Linked DNA regions of Homo sapiens: region 2 is linked to region 1. Evidence: promoter capture Hi-C in 16 types of primary human blood cells and fetal thymus (Javierre and others, 2016). All regions are on one chromosome and are shown on one strand. The core of a region is centred on a gene start or on the middle of the fragment in contact, and the rest is flanking DNA. Distances in the headings are between cores, read along the strand shown.

What was found. The method cuts DNA at HindIII sites, captures the fragments that hold promoters and counts their contacts. A CHiCAGO score of 5 or more calls a contact.
Region 2: a contact is called between a fragment that was not itself captured here and the fragment with the promoter of SMC1A in region 1, in 1 of 17 cell types (fetal thymus). The highest score is 11.3, in fetal thymus.

What each region holds. Positions count from the first base shown.
Region 1 is chrX:53,421,228-53,424,056 of GRCh38, forward strand. It overlaps SMC1A (structural maintenance of chromosomes 1A), which reads right to left and starts at 1,427. Exons shown (of 25, transcript NM_006306.4): 1 at 1,265-1,427. The coding sequence starts at 1,373. It overlaps RIBC1 (RIB43A domain with coiled-coils 1), which reads left to right and starts at 1,646. Exons shown (of 8, transcript NM_001031745.5): 1 at 1,646-1,777; 2 at 2,087-2,175. RefSeq lists enhancers at 584-1,558, 675-854, 975-1,024, 1,215-1,394, 1,559-2,530 and 1 more. The HindIII fragment of the contact is 3,638 bases long and covers 1-2,356 here.
Region 2 is chrX:40,644,037-40,646,865 of GRCh38, forward strand. The region is part of intron 2 of CXorf38 (chromosome X open reading frame 38); the gene reads right to left. Among named protein-coding and RNA genes, the nearest start is that of CXorf38, 2.1 kb to the right of the region's middle. RefSeq lists a silencer at 201-495 and enhancers at 789-1,018, 2,706-2,829. The HindIII fragment of the contact is 2,604 bases long and covers 187-2,790 here.

The DNA.
Region 1 (2,829 bases), core at 177-2,676:
CCCTCTGTGACATCTAGCAATGTCTAGAGACAGTTTTGATTGTCATGCCTGGGGAGCAGGGGTGCTACTGTTATCTAGCAGGTAGATGCCAGAGATGCTGTTAAACATCCTACAATGCACAGAGCACATCCCACAGCAAAGGATTATCTCGCTGGAAATGTCAATAGTGCCACTGTTGAGACACTCAGTCTCCAGGAAAGGTACTCAGTATGTGCTACTTCAGCAAGGGCAGCCTCTTAGGCTAGGATATCATTCAGCTAGAACATCTCTGGGGTGGAAGAATACAGCAGGATTCCAAATGGACATCTGAGGTGAGAGGAATCCACGGTGTATCGTTTAGAGTTGGGAAGACACAAAATAGAGGCTTTACCTGACCACCCTTTCTAAAGACACCACCTAAGTCACTTTATCACATCCACCTGTCTCATTTCCTGTATAGCACTTATGACAGCCTAAAACCATCTTATTTTCTCCTTATCTTCTTTCCCCTCTGGAATATAAGTTCCCTGTGAGCATGGAGTTGGTTTATTCTATTCTCCGCTGTTTCCACAACTTGCAACTGAATAACTCCTGATAAACAATAAGCATTCAACAAATTTGGTAAATTAGTTAATTTCGGCTTTTGACGGTTTCGGTGGTAGGAAAAGGGCGAGTTCGAGGCAACTACCTCTGACATAGCGGTGGGGGGTGGGGATCGACACCTCAAGCATTCTAAAGACTGGAGCGCTGGGTCTGAAATTCAAAAGTGCCGCCTCCAGAGAAGAGTAGAAAGGAGTTGGAGTGTACCAATGCGAGGCGAGAGAGGACGCTGGGCTGAAACAGAAGTGCACCGTTTGGGACCGAAGGCCACGGGAGAGCTACCAGCGTCCCCACATTCTCCGGAGGGGGTCAAGTAAGGCTGGGAAGCCGGCTCCGGCCGGTCCGGCGGGGAGCCGCGCGGCGGAGGACTGAGCTGGCGGGAAGCTGGTTCCAGACGCGACTCCTTTGGCGGGAGGGGGAAGTAGGCGGGGTAACTGGCAGCTCGGCCTGTACCACTGGGCCGGGGCGGGGGCCGCGCAGGAAGCGGCAAGTGACACCTGGAAGGGGTTCGAGTTAGAGCACCCGCGCGGGGAGAGTGGGTTCGAGCAGAACCCCCTCTGGACGGGCAAGGAACCCGTAAGGGTCCGCGACGTTTCAGGTTACATGGGCTGGGTTGTACTACTCCGGCACCGGATAAGGGGTCCAGGCCGGGACGTGCGCAGGGCCGCGGCCAGGTTTATCTCACCAGAGCCATTGGGTCCAATGATGGCGGTGAACCTCTGAAATGGTCCGATAATCTGTCGACCCTTGTACGACTTAAAGTTCTCAATCTCAATCAGTTTCAGGAACCCCATGACGGCCGCGGCGCCGGCGGCAGTAGGACAGGCCGCGCCGTACGCCCGAGAACTGAGGTAGCCCGCGCGGGAAACGCCGCAGTGCAAGCCGGGCGACCGGCAAATGTCGCGAGAATACGTCCAGGCCTAACGGGATTTTCGCCTTCCGGCAGGAGTGGGACCAGGGGCGGGGACTGATGTTGCGTATACGAGGAGCGAGCTGACGACTGGCGTGGTGCCTCCGCCCCCCTTTCTTGTTGCATGGCAACAACAAACACTTGCTCCTGCGGACCAGATCCCCGGAGGAGTTGTTGCTGGGCGGAGTCAGAGCAGTTCTTGAGGTTCAAGGAGGCGGGGGAGACCTGAGCTCACGCTTGCTGAGACAGAAGTCACAGCAGGATTATGCCCCTCAGGGCAAGAGGAAGGTGGGAGCTCGGCTGTGGCTTTAGCCTGGCCAGCTTTCAAGGCTAGGACAAGGACAGGGTCGGGAATTGGAAGGACCCGGGGGGAGCGGAGAGCTGGACGGGAAGGAGGGGCCAACGGGAGGATTCAGTGTTAGGTGAGCTCAGACTTTGCTAATGGTGGGGTGGGATTGGTGGCGGGACGGGTTGCGAAGGCGGACGGGTTGTGAATGGGACTGGGGCTACTCCCAGGCAACAGGGATACAGGCTGGGGAAGGCTACGGCCTGAGATACTACCCCTATCCCCTGCCTCCCTCCTGTTGTACCAAGCAGAGTTCAGAAACTGCCGCCGTAACCCAAGAACAAAGTTGCATGCAGAGCCAACCTAAGAGCTTCAAAATCGGGATTCCTTACTGAGAAAGGTATTTTGTGTGAACCCCCAGGAGTCAGGGTCCCTAAGCCAGCGCTCTCCACCTCCACCTACCTCTGCCTCCATGCCTCTCCCCCATCCCATTCCCACAGCTCTATACCACAATGCCACCTTACCTCTCTTCCCTCTCTGCTCTCTATCATTAATAAGGCAGGGGCCTTAGCAATCCAAGAAGCTTAAAATGTCAGCTGAATCTTCCCCTTCAGTGACCTTATACTGTAATGGCAGGTGAAACCAGTAGGTAAGTTGGTGCCATTCTCAGACTTAAACATGGAAAGGATCTGGTGGTTGCCATAATTATTCCTTTAACTATTTATTAAATTATGTCCGAAGGCTAGAAAGAGTCCTAAAGACTTAGGACAAGTCCAGGAAAGTGAGGAAGTGGCTGGGCATGGTGGCTGACAACTGTAATCCCATCGTGAGGGAGGCAGGCCAAGGCAGGAGGATCACTTGAGACCAGCAGTTCAAGACCAGCCTGGGCAACATAGTGAGACCCTATCTCTACTAAAAATTAAAAAATTAGCTGGGTGTGGCAGCTCTCACCTCTGGTCTACCCAGGATGCCGAAGCAGGAGGATCACTTGAGCCTGGGAGGTTGAGGCTGTAGTGAGTGGTGTCCGCACCACTTCACTCCAGCCTAGGTGACA
Region 2 (2,829 bases), core at 239-2,738, about 13 Mb before region 1:
TTTGGGTTGTTTCTACCTTTTGGCTATAGTGAATGGAGCTGCTATGAACATCTGCGTACATTTTTTTGTATGAATGTATGGTTTCATTTCTCCTGGGAATATACTTAGGAGGGGAATTGCTGGGTCATGTGGTAACTGTTTAATTGTTTCTTTTAAAAAAATTTAAATAAACCATGGCTATATTAAAGCTTTTTCTATGGAGATGGGAATGAGCTGCAAGAGAGAGAGTGGACAGCTGAAGCCTCAAAGGCCTTGAGCAAGAGAAAAGGGATAAGATCCAACACACGAGTGGAGGTATGAGGCAATAAGAGGAGAGACACCCTTCCTCCTCTGTAGCAGAAGGAAATAGATGGTGCACATGGAGATTAGTTGGTGTTGGCAAAAAGAAGAGGAAGTATAGTCAGCCCTCCATATCCACGAGTTCCGCATTCATAGAATCAACCAACTGTGGATGAAAAATTCTCAGAAAAATAATACAACAGTAAAAAGTAATCGAAATTTTTTAAAAATATAGCATAACGACTATTTACATAGCACTTACATTCTATCAAGTATTATAAGTAATCTAGAGATGATTTAAAGTACATAGGAGAATGTATGTAAGTAATATGCAAATACCACATACATCATTTTATATCAGGGACTTGAGCATCTGTGGATTTTGGTATCCTTGGGGGTCTTGGAAGCAATACCCCATGGATAAGGAGAGACAACTATGTATGTCCAAGGGCCTCCATCAATTCCGTGAAGCATGAGCAAGGGCGGAGGAACGGGAGCAGGGATTTGCCAGGGAAAAGTAGTAGTCTCCAGAAACTGAAGCCTAGAGAGAGATGTGGCCAGACCGCTGGGGCTCATGATCAAGAATGAAAGTGAAACCAGTCAGTTCCCTTGTGAGATTCTTTCCCACTAATCAGAAGCAGAAAATGTCATCAGGACTGGAGTTGGGCCAGGCAAGTTCAGAGAAAGGAGAAAAAAAAAGCTGAGATAACAGCAAGGGACGGATTATAATGATGGGCCATGGAATCTGGGCTAGCTGAGGTGACAAAGGCAGGCAGGAGGACAGAGGGTGCTGGGTATTCAGGAAGCAGTGGAAGCCTCAAAGAGGCGGAAGTAGTATGGGGCACAGGGTTGGGGGCAGGGGTGCATGAATAAGTGTGCCAAAGGCCAGCAGGATGTTAGACACTGAGACTTTCTGTGCCAAGGTCCAGGGTGTGGGCATGCAAGCCGGAGGCTGAGGGGGAGTGAAGCAGAGGATGCTGGAATCAGGAGCCCAGAAACTGAGAGGATGGGGTTGGACTAGAAGGTCTGTAGGTGACAGCAACCAAGAGGAGCAAAGAGTGGTATAAGGAGGTAGTACAGGCTACAAGAGGATTCCAATGGTGTGAAAGCAGCAACGCAGACCAAACAGATGAGGGACAGGCATTGTAAAGGGCAGAGTTTTCTTTCTTTCTGTTTTTTTTCTCTTTTCTAGGTAGAAGTAGAAGTCAGCAACTCTATGGCTGCAGTGGAAAAAAATGGGGAAGATGGTGTAGGTGTGGTGGGTTTACCGGCTCGTGATACCCAAAAGTCTGGGGACCCCTGATACAGTTCAATTTTTTAAGACAGGGTCTTGCTCTGTCACCCAGGCTGGAATGCAGTGGTGTGATCACGGCTCACTGCAGCCTCGACTTCCCAGGCTCCAGTGATCCTCTCACCTCAGCCTCCTGAGTAGCTGGGACTACAGGCATGCACCACCACACCCAGCTAATTTTTGTATTTTTTTGTAGAGACGGGGTTTTGCCATGTTATCCAGGGTGGTCTTGAACTCCTGAGCTCAAGCCATCCTCCCACCTTGGCCTCCCAAAGTGCTGGGATTACAGGCATGAGCCACCGCGCCCGGCCCCAATTCCTTTCATTTTTTTTTTTTTTTTTTTTTTTTTTTTTTTTTTTTTTTTTTTTTGAGACGGAGTCTCGTTCTGTCGCCCAGGCGGGAGTGCAGTGGCGCGATCTCCGCTCACTGCAAGCTCCGCCTCCCGGGTTCACGCCATTCTCCTGCCTCAGCCTCCCGAGTAGCTGGGACTACAGGCGCCCGCCACTGCGCCCGGCTAATTTTTTTGTATTTTTAGTAGAGACGGGGTTTCACCGTGGTCTCGATCTCCTGACCTCATGATCCGCCCGCCTCGGCCTCCCAAAGTGCTGGGATTACAGGCGTGAGCCACTGCGCCCGGCCGTCCTTTCATTTTTGAGATTGGGGAGCACAAGCTGGCCCAGTGTCACACCACGGCAGCTGATCCAGGACTCAGATCATCTGCTTCCCAGGCACTGCTCCTTTCCAGTGCCCACCCTGTGCCTGCTGATAACTACTGGCATGTAGACTGACTGCTAAAGTCAATTTGTGTTAGGAAGCCACTTCTGGCTGTCCCTCTCCGTCCCTTACTGGGCAAAAAAATTTCCTACTCGATCTACTTAGTAAGTGACATTGCCAAGATCTGAAGACAGATCCGGCTGCCTACCCCATTCCCAGCTACCCAAAGTGCCTTTAACTGGGCACTTAAGGTGCTATTTTAGCCCTAACTTCCCTTGGCTTACTCTGTCATCCTTACGGCATCCTATAGCCAAAAAAGAGCTGATGAGCTGTTCAGCGAGCCTTACCCTCAAACAGGCCACACAAGAGTCTCCCTCCCTCCCTGCCTGTGCTCATGATGCTCGCTCTGCATCTTGCCCCAGTATCTCTTGTAGAACTCTTTCCTGTAACTTTCCAAGCAGGGGTAACAAACTCAAATGCCCTCAGGAAGCAGACGGGTAGAAGAAAGCTTCTACTTCACTAAGCTGGGTTGGGTCCCGCATACC